Linked DNA regions of Homo sapiens: all the other regions are linked to region 1. The links are contacts of gene promoters, found by promoter capture Hi-C in blood cells and fetal thymus (Javierre and others, 2016). All regions are on one chromosome and are shown on one strand. The core of a region is centred on a gene start or on the middle of the fragment in contact, and the rest is flanking DNA. Distances in the headings are between cores, read along the strand shown.

The links. Contacts are between HindIII fragments. The CHiCAGO score rates a contact against its expected background, and 5 or more counts as called.
Region 2: a fragment that was not itself captured here is called in contact with the fragment with the promoter of SHROOM3-AS1 in region 1 in 1 of 17 cell types (total CD4 T cells); the score reaches 6.8 in total CD4 T cells.
Region 3: a fragment that was not itself captured here is called in contact with the fragment with the promoter of SHROOM3-AS1 in region 1 in 1 of 17 cell types (M2 macrophages); the score reaches 5.9 in M2 macrophages.
Region 4: a fragment that was not itself captured here is called in contact with the fragment with the promoter of SHROOM3-AS1 in region 1 in 1 of 17 cell types (endothelial precursors); the score reaches 5.2 in endothelial precursors.

The regions. Positions count from the first base shown.
Region 1 is chr4:76,800,733-76,804,092 of GRCh38, reverse strand. SHROOM3-AS1 (SHROOM3 antisense RNA 1) reads left to right here and starts at 1,630. Exons shown (of 3, transcript NR_187405.1): 1 at 1,630-2,036. RefSeq lists an enhancer at 2,055-2,845. The HindIII fragment of the contact is 9,780 bases long and covers 1-3,360 here.
Region 2 is chr4:77,212,151-77,215,510 of GRCh38, reverse strand. No RefSeq gene overlaps it. Among named protein-coding and RNA genes, the nearest start is that of CCNG2, 57 kb to the right of the region's middle. The HindIII fragment of the contact is 1,721 bases long and covers 913-2,633 here.
Region 3 is chr4:76,444,111-76,447,470 of GRCh38, reverse strand. All of the region lies in intron 1 of SHROOM3 (shroom family member 3), which reads right to left. Among named protein-coding and RNA genes, the nearest start is that of SHROOM3, 11 kb to the right of the region's middle. The HindIII fragment of the contact is 3,057 bases long and covers 72-3,128 here.
Region 4 is chr4:76,515,528-76,518,887 of GRCh38, reverse strand. The region is part of intron 1 of SHROOM3 (shroom family member 3); the gene reads right to left. Among named protein-coding and RNA genes, the nearest start is that of MIR4450, 56 kb to the left of the region's middle. The HindIII fragment of the contact is 936 bases long and covers 1,053-1,988 here.

The DNA.
Region 1 (3,360 bases), core at 381-2,880:
AACAATGAGAGGAATTCAGGGTTCCCTACTAGGCTGGCGCTGACCCACGATGGGGAAGCAGCCTCTTGGCGAAGAAAGGAGGAAGAAAGAAGAATTGCTGACTTGATTCCCCTCCCTCCCAAGGAACCCGGGAGGAGGGCATTGAGAAGTTGGTAGCATCCTGGAGAAAGGGTGGCCTTTGTGAAAAGTGCAGGCTCCACTGGATGCTTGAAATGACTGCTCCTGCCACCCTTTCTAAGGTCTCCTCCAGAAGGAGGGAGGAGCGCAGTGAGAGTGGGATGAGGACTTACTTCATCACACAAGGAAGGCTGGTGAACCAGTGACCACTGGGTGAAGAAAGAGAACTAGGGTCTGGAGAAGAGCCAATCGAGAAAGCCTGTGGGGCGGCTCATTAATGAGCTCATCCATCCAGGCAGGTTAAATTGCAGGCAACTGGGTTGCCCAGGAAGCAGCTGAAGTTTAGAGACTAAACAATATGCAATCACGATAATTTCCTCTGCCTGTGACTCATCTCGGAGGGTGTCCAGGTGATGGTGCAAAGATAGACTGAGAAAGAAGGCCTTTCTTTTCTAATAGCAAATGCAGAGAGAGCAGGAGCAATATTGTCAGGAATGCATTTCTCAGAAATCTAAAGAAGTGTTTTGTCACTTTATTTATAACATTTCAAAACTATTTTTGACTCGCACTACCTAATTACTTTGATTTTAGGTAGTGCAAAGCTCTTTGTAATACATAATAAACACACGCTTCCTCCCGCACCCCACTTAGGGAGAAAACAGAATGTTGGGCTTTTGCAGCCTGACAAGTTTATGTAACAAGCAGCATCCTTTTTGCTGTTTATGCATGAAGGGAAGCCATGGGAAAAATGGATGAAGTGTGGAATTCCAAGATTTTAATAAATATCAAACACAAGAAAAACTCTCCACTTGGTTGGGATGAATCGTGTTCTTCGTCAACTGCCTGTTAAAGCATTTTGATTCCATCTCAGGGAGGAGGAGGGAGGCAAGAAGGAGGAAAGAAACATCTTCAGGGTGCTCTTAGCAATGCATTCTTGCTTCCCGGCCCATGGCCTCTTTTCTCCTTAGAACTGTTTTTATCTTTTTTGGAGAACAAAGCCTCTTTCAACATTCCTTAGCTTACAGATGGGTAATGAGGCAAGAAGGAGGTGAAGTATCCTCACCGGCACCCAATATGAACCCAGTTCTCAAGTCCACTTATTTTTTTTAAACCTCACTGTCTCTGTTGTAGGGTTAATTCTCCTCCCGCCGCCTCTCTCAGGCCACTTCCCCTCCCCTCCCTGTGTATTTGCAGTCACAGAGCTCGTCTCAGAGGGGAGAGGAGAAGAGCTATTTGATCCTGGCCTCATGTCCATCAGGGGCCTCACATACGGCCTTTAGGCCTTATCTCCAGATGAGCTTATGCAGGCAGTCATTACAGTTGCATGCGTGTAAACAACACTGGTAATCAAGGCGGAGCTTTAAAATACAGCACAATTACAACTTTTTGTAGCTGTTTGGCATGTCTTCATTTAAAAAATACATTTAGGGCTTCAAAAGAAGTGGCTCAGGCCTCTTTCACCCGAGAAGCCTTGCGTGCACTGTTAGCAAACTCACACAAGTGAAGAGGGACCTTTCTTTGCTACACAGCGTCCTCCGTGGCGAGCTGGAGGGAAGCGCTCTCAGCAGAGAGGGTCGCCCTCACCAAGAAGCCAAAGGGAAGAGGACAGAATCTATCTTGTAGGGACGCCCTTGGTCTTCAGAAGGAACACTTTTTCTGTTTCACAGAGATCTGTGGAATGTGTGGGTTCCCTGAAGAGGTGGACGGACCCCCGGGGTCGCGCGTTTTCTCAGCCCTGGGCCCGTAGCGGAGCTCGATCCTTCCAGAGCTCAGGGCCAGAAATGTTGCGATTCCGAACACTTTGCCTTTCTTCTGAGAGGAGCCGCCCGGCAGACGCTCATCATTAAGAAGCAACGTAATTAACAACGAATGTTTCCCCTTGGCGCTAATGCGAACACCCTGGGGAACTGCCAAGTCTGGTAGGGGAATCGCAGCCGGGGGTGTCTGGGGGAAGCCAGCGTGGGCGGGCGCGGTGGGCCTGGGATTGCTTTTAGGCGCAGCAGCAAGGAGGGCGAGGGCGAGTGGAACAGAGGTCGGAGACCTTGCTAAGCTGCTGGCCTTTTCACGTTTCGGACCCTGAGAGTAAGCTGAGAGAATGGATGGGGTCAAGGCTGGGACAGGCTGTTGGCTACTGCCGGTGGGAGGGAATCCGGGCGGGAGACTGAGACCGGGCGGAAAGGAGGGAGACAGAGCACTCCCTCTAGGCGCTGAGGTCCGACACCCGCTTGATTTGTCAGTGCCGCCAACAGCCCTCCTCCTGTTGTCAGCAAGGACAGTCGGTAGGGCCTGCTGAGGGCCAGGCACAGTGCAGGGGCGAGCGCCCAAAGGTAGGGATCAGCCGCTGGTCTCTGTGCCCAGGGGTTCAAGGCCTGGGAGGAGACAGGCTTTGAAGACTTATAAAACAGTTGTGGGTGCTAATTTAGACATATTCCAGACATAGTCACAGGGCAGTCCCGACCAGAGGAGTTTAAGTCAGTGTTGTTACAATGCTTTATTTAATTAATATTATTTTTGGAAGGCTGTGTGCACCTGGAGGAGGCCAGCGGCTGTGTCTGTTTTGTTCACTGCTCTATCACTCCCACCTGGGATAACTCTTGGCAAATATGATGACAGCACCCATTGACGAGGTGCTTAAGATATATAAGGTTGGTGCAAAGTATTTATACGGTGCACCATATAAATACTTTATATTTGGCAGTCATCTGATCCTCAGCATAGCCTCGAGAGAGATTAGCCCCATTTTACAGATTATCAAACTAAGGCAAAGGATAATAGTGAATCTGGGTCTGAATGTAGTCCGTCTGGCTACAAAACCTGTGTTTTAAAATCATAGGCATAAATTGACTCAGAACTTGAAGAATGACTAGGAGACCAGGAGGGGTTGGGTCGGGGGAATTTTTGCTTTTATTTTCATAGTTTTGCTTCTCAGGTGTTGAGAGTAGTGCACCCTAAAAGTCCCGCTCATGTTTTGGTTGCCTGTGCTTGAGGGATATTACTCAAGAAACCTTTGCCCAGTCCAATGTCCTGGAGCGTTTTCCCATTGTTTTCTTGTAGTAGTTTCATAGTTCGAGGTCTTAGATTTAACTATTTAATCCATTTTGATTTGATTTTTGTATATAGTGACATGGGGTCTAGTTTCATTCTTCTACATATGGATATCCAGTTTCCCCAGCACCATTTATTGAAGAGATTGTCCTTTCCCCAATGTATGTTCTTGGCACCTTTGTTGAAAATGAATTCACT
Region 2 (3,360 bases), core at 524-3,023, 410 kb before region 1:
CTTGCATGTTTGCTAAGGGCATCCAGAGCTCACCGGCAGACACTTCCACATGCTGATAGATCATGAGCAGGCTGGAACTCATCAACTCAGAAAAGCTATTGTTCCTAAGCAGTCAGGAAAGATTCTACGCAGAATGGGATCCACGGGCACAGGTGATGCCACTGTCCACAGGTGGAACTTAAAAATAGCCCTGACATATCTGAGTCAGTCATAGTGACTCAGGTTGCATCAGGTTCAGGCTGTCCAGGATACTTTTAGTAAAAACTACATTGGTGCTTTAGCTACATGTGCAAGATACAACTACATTGTAAAACCCTTTCAAATCAACACTTGGATTAGTGTCAGCATAACTGGGCACTAGCCTATCTACTTCAGCATACCAGAAAAGCCGTCACACCTGGTAAGTAGGTTGGTGTATTGTTAGAGGAAGAGATCACCTGAAATGTGTTAACACATTTGAGAACCCACTTGGAGTTTAAGGAGTTTTGAAAAGCTGTATTAAAGATGTCTAACTATTCAACAGTATCTGGACATATACATTAGCAAGCTGTTCACTTATCTTAGGTGTGCTGTTTGTGAGAATAGTGCTGATAAAAATAAACATGACTTTGAAGAGATGAAATCAACCTAAATGCCCAGTGATAGACTGGATAAAGAACATGGTACATATACCATGGAATACCCTGCAGCCACAAAGAATGAGGTCATGTCCTTTTCAAGATCATGGATGGAGCTCCTGGAGGCCATTATCTTTAGCAAACTAAAGCAGGAACAGGAAACCAAATACATGAATCCATGCTTGCACTTAAGTGGGAGCTAAGTGATGAGAACACATGGCACAGGGGAACAGACACTGGGGCCCTACTGAAGTGAAGGAGGGAGAGGATCCAGAAAACTAGTGGGTACTAAGCTTAGTACCTGGGTGCCAAAAGCTGTACAAACCCACGTGACAAGTTTACCTATAAGAAGCCTGCACATGTACCCCCTGAAGTTTAAACATGATTAACAGAGCTTTTCTATTACCCCCCAGTACACAAACCATTGATATGCACGTGATTGGTTATCTGAAACCTCACTGAGGTTGAGTTGCTTTTTCAGTTGTCCAATTGGTATGCTATTTACACTGATCCAAATCAGTTGTATGGGACTCTTGTGAGACTGCTTTGGGGTAGTGTGGGCTGGAGAGTTGGGGAATGGCAAGACATCCACTTGGGGAAGAGTGGAAATGTGTGGAGTCACTCTGGCTCATTTAGTGCTTTTCTTGCTTGGGAGTTGGCTGAGGCTCTACCAGAAGGTGGTCAATGGTGGTGCTATCATGAAGTTTCCCATTCCTGAAGGGGCCATAACTTAGTGCCAGAAGCAGAGAGGGAGTGGGTTGTCATTCCTCAGCCAAAAAAATCATACCCCAACAGGCCCCTGTCTGTCAAGTCCTTGGTAGAGATTACCAAGCCCTGATTAAGTAGGTGTGAGTTTCCTATTGCTGCAGAATTACCATTAAGTGGCCTAATTTAACACAAACTTGTGTTTTTGGTAGAAAGTACCAAGTCTAACAGCACTTCAAGTTGCAGACAAACTATAGATAAATATCCTACAACTCTGCAGGTCAGGTCTGAAGTTAATCTCACTGGGCTAAAATGGAGATGTGGGCAGGGCTGTATTCTAGGAGATTCATCTTACCTCCTCCAGCTACTCTAGGCTGCCTGTATTCCTTGGTGCATGGTCCCCTTTCATCCTTAGTGATCAAGGGCCTAAAGGAACAGGATTTGAAGATAAGAAAATGAAGCCAAAGAGAATAGGACATGGATCTACCTGAGGAATTAGGCACAAGATCCGCACGCTTGTCTCAATGAGAGTATCTACTACAGAAGCAAGGCTCCAAGTATCACCTTGAACTGAGGGACCCATTGTACACCTGAGGTGAAAGACCTGATCACAGTATCCATCATCCTACCATATATACCACATCACACCGAAGCTGGTCTTGCAGGTATCTTCAAGGAAGGCATTCCTGCATCCTAATGTGCTGACTTAGTGACAGTCTATGCGCCTGTGGCACTGTCCTCCAGAATGCATCTACAAATTGAACCAGTGACTACATCATACATTTTTCCCAGCCCTGTGTGTCCTGTGTATTGGTGACAAAGCAATGATCACTTTAACTTCTTTTACTATCATTCCCAATAACCCACTTGAGAACTATGCCTGAGACTGAATGATTAGTTGTCTTCAAAGTATTTCAGGGAGCTTCCAGAGGACACAGTTCAATAAACCCACAATTAGGCTATCATTTTGGACTCCTTAAACCAGTAGTCCAGCAGGGACAGCACAGGTCTGCTTTGCTGATAGTAATTAGCCCTATCATGGTGAGTTTGCATTGCTGTTACTAGGTGGCAGCAGGAATTGGCATGTCTACAACTCAGGGGATTTGAAGGAGAGTGGTCTTGGTGCTCAGTGAATTGGCAAACTGCAGCAGCCATGACCTAGTAAAAGGTGAAGTAGCCAGAGGCTCAGATCTCAGGGATGAAGGTTTACTTTATTCCACTGGGCAAGATATTTGAAGAGGGACATTCTATAAAATCCCTCCTGAAAAAATTGCAACAAGTATAGAAGAAACATGGAAGAGCCTTAAAGCTTTAAGAGCTGAACACTAAACATTAAGTTTAATATACTATAGACCTCATAGCCATTGTTCATGAGTTATGTTACTACATATAGACTAATAGCTTTGTGGCACCTAATGACTTGGCCACAGGTACAATTTGAAGCACAGGTGACCTCAGACTTGGCTGAACACCCTTGTGAACTTCCTAGAACACAAGAGCATTAAGAGGCTTGTGAGGAGCTACTACAGGCCATTTCTCACTTAACTTCCTGATCTAAGGAGGCTGTCATGAACCCATTTCATTGCTTTTAGGGTATTCATGAAGTAATGGAGATCAGAGTCTACTAAGATGCAAACCGCTTGACCTAGCTCTTAGGGCATGGCATGTCAGTTTCTTATCTGTCCCAGACAGTAGTCAAGCTTGCACCAAGAATGGAGGGAAAAAATATTAAGAAGGAGCCAGCATCAGTCTAGGTCCTACACAAACAATGTGTAGGAAGAAAAGAGGGATAACCTTGACTCCTAAAGTGCAGGCCCAGATGGATCCAGTGGAGGTATCTCTTGGTAATAGAAATACTCAAGGGAGAACTTTGATTAGAGTGAAGGGTTTCTTATTCCTCAGCCACCAAACGTGGCTTACTGCTAAGGGAACAATGTTAAGTCAGCCTCTTCTGGCTTTTAAAGGCAACAAGCATTTGGGTGTGCTACTTCAGTTTGTCAGCTAACCCCAAAGCTTTGAGACCTGAGAAAAGAGCCTC
Region 3 (3,360 bases), core at 351-2,850, 360 kb after region 1:
TCCCAGTTTCCATGAGACAAGGCCTCAAAAATGTGAACCTCTCAGAGGACACATGCAAGATGATAAAAGCTTACATTGTACCCACACAACTTCTTTCATTAAAAATTTTAACTTTTCAAAGGAAAAGAGAAAGGCAATTGATTCTAGAGTCCAATTTTTCTTCTTACCTTCTAGCAAATGTGTGGCTCAGGATACACTTTAATATACAAAGTGCTAAGCACTTTGACTAACCTGAAGAATGCTTATTTCCACTTAAATTGCCTGGGTTTTGACTTCAAATTCATGTCACAATGATTTTTAAATTTTGAGATCTTTAGAATACTAGGATCTGTCTGTACCAGGTTTCCAGGAACCAAGAATGAGTGAGAGATGAGGCCAATTGAACCAAGACCCTAGCAGGTAGCAATGGCTTTGAGGGTAACAACTGTACGTGAAGTTCCCAGGATCGTGCCAAGAGAGTGTACTATTAGGAAAGCCGGCGAGTAGGCCTTGCAGGGAAAGTGAATGCTAGTGACCATCATGAAACCAGAGCAGACAGATTGAGCGTGGACACAGCCAACTCAGCAGTAGATGAAGCTGGATGAGCACAGCAGATGTACTACATTTTGAACTAAGCAAGGGCTAGAAAGGGACAACCAAAATGAGATAAAGTTTGGTGTAAAGAGCACTCCTTCATAAAAGACCATCAGTTGTGGTGCCCAGCTCATAACCGGGGCTCATCAGCATGTCGGGAGGCATGAACCTCATGTGCCCCAGCAGATCATTGTTCTATCAGTTTGCAACTTATGTCTGATTCCCTCTTTTAACTGGTTTCAGTCCCTGTTAGCTTTAAACCATCTAATGTTCGTCTAGTATTTCTCCTTGAGTACCAGGCCTTGGGGGTTGAGGTTTTTTCATGGCCTATCCATGTGATGGGATATACCCCACCCAAACAACCAGAGTGGTCAGAGTCTAGCAGAAGTAAAAAGCAGCAGGAAGCAGCACCTGGGAAGATGCAGAGAGCCCAGTTGAACTCCCAGTGTTAATAGAAGTAGATGTGCATCCCCCACCGCCGCCATTTCACCGAGCAGGGCACCTTAAGGATGCCACCAAGTTGACTGACTGTTGCACACAGTTCATGCATTCCACTTTTTTTTTTTTTTTTTACCAGTTTATCAAGATATGGGGTAACATAGATGGAAGGGTTCTTTGGCATCACAAAGTGACAACGCAGTTTTTACTTTGAAAGAAATTTTTCAGGCTGAAAGTTAAAAAGGTCTTAGATGTGTACCTTAGTAGTTTTATGACCTTCAGCAAGAGTCCAGTCTCTCCACCTATAGGACTTCCCAGAGTTTTGCAATGCTTACATGAGCTAGCATGCCTGTTACAGAGCAGGACCTCAGTCAAGTTACTGACAGTACGGTGATAAAAGCAACCCAGGAAGTCTTGTCAATTGAGAGTGAAAAATAACCCAAGAGATCAAGAGTTATGGGGTGGAGGGGGAAAACTCTCCCAACAGCAAAGAGAGTATTTACTGTTTCTTTGTGCATCATTCCCTAAGTTACTATGATGTTGACAGTTGTCTTTTGGTTAACAGTTGTCTTTTGGAAAGCCCTGTCCTGTTGTAGACCCAGGAAGTACCTTAGAAATGTACATGAGAGGGAGGAAGAAGGTGGCTTTAAGAGCCAGTACTAAAAACCTCCCAGGGTTTAAGTACCTGCCATGGGTCTGTCCATTTCACCATGAATAGAGAAAGACTCTTGGTGCGATCTACCCTCACACCCTGCATTTAGATCCAGTCCAAGGTCCTTTCCACAGCCTGCAAGGCCTTATGTGATCTGACCTCAGCCTACCTTTCCATTTCTCATACTACTCTCTCGCTTACTGTACTCCAATAACACTGACTTTCTTTTTGTTTCTAGAACTTTCTAAGACTCTCCTACCTCAGCCCAACTTATAAACCTCTTTGCATGTCTGGCTTCTTATTTCTTATTAGGTCTTGGCTCAAATGTCATCTCCTCAGAAAACCCTTCTCTAATCACCATGTGGCATACCTCTACCTCACAGACACTATCACTCTGGAACATATCGTATTGGGTATTTTTTTTCTTAATAATACTTACCACACCCTGAAATTAGCATATACAAACATGTTTATTGCCAGTCCCCTTCTGTTGGAATATAAGCTCTATGATGGCAGGGAATAATCTGTTCAGTGTTTCAGTGTGAGGTAGCAACTGCTGGCCATGATACAGAAAATCAGCCAAGTATCATCTTTGGCATATGAGTTGCCTACCTATGCTGGATACCTACAAAGCACTATTGCATAGCTTATACTATGTTGGATACTTATAACAACTTCATTAGGTAAGAATGTTCCTTTTTTTTTTTTTTTTGAGACAATGTCTGGCTCTGTCACCTGGCTACAGTGCAGTAGCACAATCTTGGCTCACTGTAATCTCCACCTCCTGGGCTCAAGCGATCCTCCCACCTCAGCCTCCTGAGTAGCTGGGACCACAGGCATGCACCACCATGCCTGGCAAATTTTTGTATTTTTTGTAGAGACAGGGTTTTGCCATGTTGCCCAAGCTGGTTTTGAACTCCTGGACTCAAATGATCCACCTGACTCATCCTCCCAAAGTGCTAGGATTACAGGTGTGAGCCACCATGCCTGGTGCCTTTGAAAGATGAGAAAACTGGCCAGGCGTGGTGGCTCATGCCTGTAATCCCAGTACTTTGGGAGGCCGAAGCAGGCGGATCACGAAGTCAGGAGTTCAAGACCAGCCTGACCAATATGGTGAAACCCCATCTCTACTAAAAATACAAAAATTAGCCAGGCATGGGGCCCATGCCTGTAGTCCCAGCTACTTGGGAGGCTAAGGCAGGAGAATCGCTTGAACCCGGGAGGTGGAGGTTGCAGTGAGCCAAGATCATCGTGTCACTGCACTCCAGCCTGGGCGACAGAGCAAGACTCCGTCTCAAAAAAAAAAAAAAAAAAAAAAAAAAAGAAAGAAAGAGAGATGAGGAAACTGGAAACTGAGGTTCAAGAAGGCTGTTACTTGCCATGGTCACATAGCCAGTAAAAGCTAGGGTAGAAATAAAACTTGTTTATTCCCACTCAGAGCCCTATATTGTCTGGGATGTAAGCTTTTTTCTATGCTGGAAAACCTCACTTAAAATGAAAATATATATATACATATATACATATATATAACATAGAAATTACAAATATAAATTAATATACATGCACCAAAGAGCATTCAAAAATAAAGGTTTAGGCCAGGCGTGGTGGATCACTCCTGCAATCTCAGCACTTAGGGAGGTTGAGGTGGGCAGATCACTTGAGCTGAGGAGTTTGAGACCAGCCTGGGAAACATAGCA
Region 4 (3,360 bases), core at 271-2,770, 290 kb after region 1:
CCCTTGCGCTTTTTGTACTGGTTCAATAAATATCTTCTTTTTGCTTCATTGAGTTTACATCGCTTGCAATAAAAAGAATTTTAATACAGCCCTCAAGAGTTTGCTTCCCTGACCTGTATCAGTATTTATGTTTTCTAGGCAAATGAGAGAGTACACAGGAACAGGCTTGGGTGCCTGGCCCCAGATGTGTTACAGTACTCATTTAGAAATATGTTAGATAAGCTCCGTAGAACCCTACCAAATGTGAACAGCCATTTTTGATTCTTTGAAATCATTCAGATTATTTAACACAGGCAGGCAGGCAGGCAGGCAAGCAGGCAAGAAGGAAGGAAGGAAGGAAGAAGGTAGGAAGGAAGGAAGGTAGGAAGGAAGGAAAGAAGGAAGGAAGGAAGGCAGGCAGGCAGACAGGCAAAAAGGAAGGAGGGGGGAGGGGAAAGAAAATGAAATAAAACCCTGTCCATTAATGAGAACACTCTGTTTTTGCCTCTGTCTTTCAAAGACATGGGGAAAATGATCTCATTCAACCACAACAAAGATTTATGGAGTGCATATTAGGTGCCAGATGCTGATATGGAGTGGAGGACACTACGAATGAATAAATGTAGTCCCTGCTCTTGGGGGGTTAAATGCCTAAAGAATTATAGAGGTTTGAACCTCCCCAAAATGTCTGTCTTTCCCCCTATTTATCAGAAGTTGAGATAATTTGATATTTTATATGATTCTTAAGAGTCAAGCTCTCACCCTCCACTAGGAATACACACACACATACACACACACAACCAAAATAATCATCTTGCAATTTCTGAGGGTTGACAGATATTTCCTTATAACTTAAATAAATCTCTCATTTTAAAAGCTGTCCCTCTGGACTAAAAAAAATCTGATTTAGAAACTTTACCACAGTCAATTCATATCATTTACTTTGTAAGGAAAAAGTCTTCATGTTCCTCTTCTATATGCAGCCCTTGCTCTGCTGCAGCCGCAATATCCCGGTGAGGCTACCGGGAGGTCATTCAATCCACTTCCTTTCCACGGGGAATGGCTGGGAAGCTTTGGTTAAATGAGTGGTCCAAGGTCACATGGTAACAAATTCTGGCCCAGAGTCCTAATCTGAAAACCCTAGTCTTTTCCTCTCTCTGCTAGCATACACAGGCCCTCATTGGTCTGAGAATTAGCAGAACAGAACCCATATTGTTGAAGAAATTTTCAAATAATCAGCCACTGACTACAGCCCTAACATCCCCTTTATATATATATATATATATACCAAACAAACAAACAAAAACCCTAAGCAACTCAATCAGGAGAAATTCTTTTTAAGTTTCATTTACATGGATAAGAATCCTAAATCTTACCTATCTAGCACATCATGTCAAAAAACTACAAGTTAACCAAGCAAGAATTCTGTGAAACTACCTGGTCAGACCAGCAGAGCTGAGAACAGTGCCCTGGGCATGCAGGGTTAGGGATGTTCTGTATTTGGGATGCCCTGTACTTGCGATGCAGTGTTACCACCTGGGATAGGGAGGAAGTGAGCCTTTTTTAGACACTGTATCTTTGATAGTCCAGGTGATTTGCCTACACCCATCCAATGCCAACTGCATGTAAACTGGGGTGACTTGTTAGTTCCTGGATGACAAGGGTATGACCCAAGATGGGCAGACACACGGACTCTTTCTCACCAGGGCCTCTGGCAGACATTTTCCATGTATCAAAGCTCAAAGCAAAGTTCTTTTACAGCAAAGAAGACCAAGCAGTTGTCACTGAGAAGAAACCTGATTGCTCTCCTTGCAATGATCCTTTCAGCACTAAATATCTAATCCCATTGTAAGACTGAGAAAGTCACCAAGTGTGTTGTATTGCAGCAGGAAATCTATTTGAAGACAGTTTTAATAACAAGATAAATAGAAGTTCCAAAGGGTAGGAAAGGATTTCCTTAAGTGAGAACATAAATAACTCATCATTAAAATCTGGGTATGATGGAAGCTTGGCTGAAAGCAAGACTCTGGATTGGCTAGCTCAGAGGGAGTTCTCAAACCTCCCTGTAAAACTTTTTCACAGATTTCCTGTTCATGAGACTTGGGGTGGGATTGGAGGTAGCAGCTATAATTTATGAAAGGATCCAGGATCAGAAACTTAGAAAATCAGATCTGGAGACCCAACTTAAGTGTAGTTATTGGCTAGACTGTCCTCAGGGACTGCCCTGGTGATGTACACCAGGACTTTGTGTTTCTGTAATGTGCTTATTGCATAATATCTATTAGCTGGTGATTTTGGTTCCTTTTTTTTTTCTAAATCATGCTCCTGTTTTCATATATTATGAGCAAAGTGCTGTTATCTGAGAGTATCAGCTGACTCAGACCATTCAGTTCAGGGATTCCTCTAGGCTCCTGAGTAGGGGCTTAGATAGGGCAAATTCTGATGGTCTTACAAGGGAACCCCAGTCCTTCATGTCATAAGAGCATCTCTGCCTATAGCTTCATCTGATCTCAACACAGAGAACTAATAAGGTAGGGACATGGCATGATTTGGACTTCAGGAATATTACTTTCCTAGTTGGAAGGATGGATAATAGGAGCAATATTACAGTCTAGAAAACATGTTACAAAGATATTGCAATTGACCAGGCTAGAGAGAAAGAGGAACTGAACAGGAGAAATGACGGAGAAGAGATATACATTTGAGTAATAGTAGGAGGTAAAGTCAGTATCCTTGGTCATTCACTAACCATAGTGGGTGAAGGAGCAGAAAGACTCTGTGGTGACTTCAAAGAAGGATCACAACCCACTTTCCCTCTCGGTCTACTGCTAGTTTCACACACTAACCTGACTCCCAATCTCTCTCATTATCTTTGTGTTATTATGAAGTATCATTTCTGGTTATCAGACATGGCTTCCCATGTAATCATTTCCCATGCCAGGCCCTGTGTCAACAGTTGAGCTTTCTACCCACCTGGAGTTTGAGAACAGATCAAGACCAGCTTATGCCTAATATCTCAAATTAATTATTTACCTCATAAAGTAGTACCAGGCAAGTGAGACTGATAAGTCTGTCCTAGCTTAGAAGAAAGACCACCTACATGACTTCTCAACATGACTTTAAATAATAAAATTAAATTTGGCAATGGGAAGTCTACACCCAGACAAGTCTCGGCTTGAGTTTATATGGTTTTTAGACGTAAAATCCAACTCTGGTCACTGACTGATACTGCAAACCCAGAAACATTAACCAAGAAATATTTCATATCCTCTGCTCTATTGGAATAAAACCCAAGCCACTGAGGAGTTTAAGGGCAAAGGACAATTCGAAAACCTGGAAGCAATGGTCAATGTGCTCATTAGAAGTTCTAAAGGAAATAAT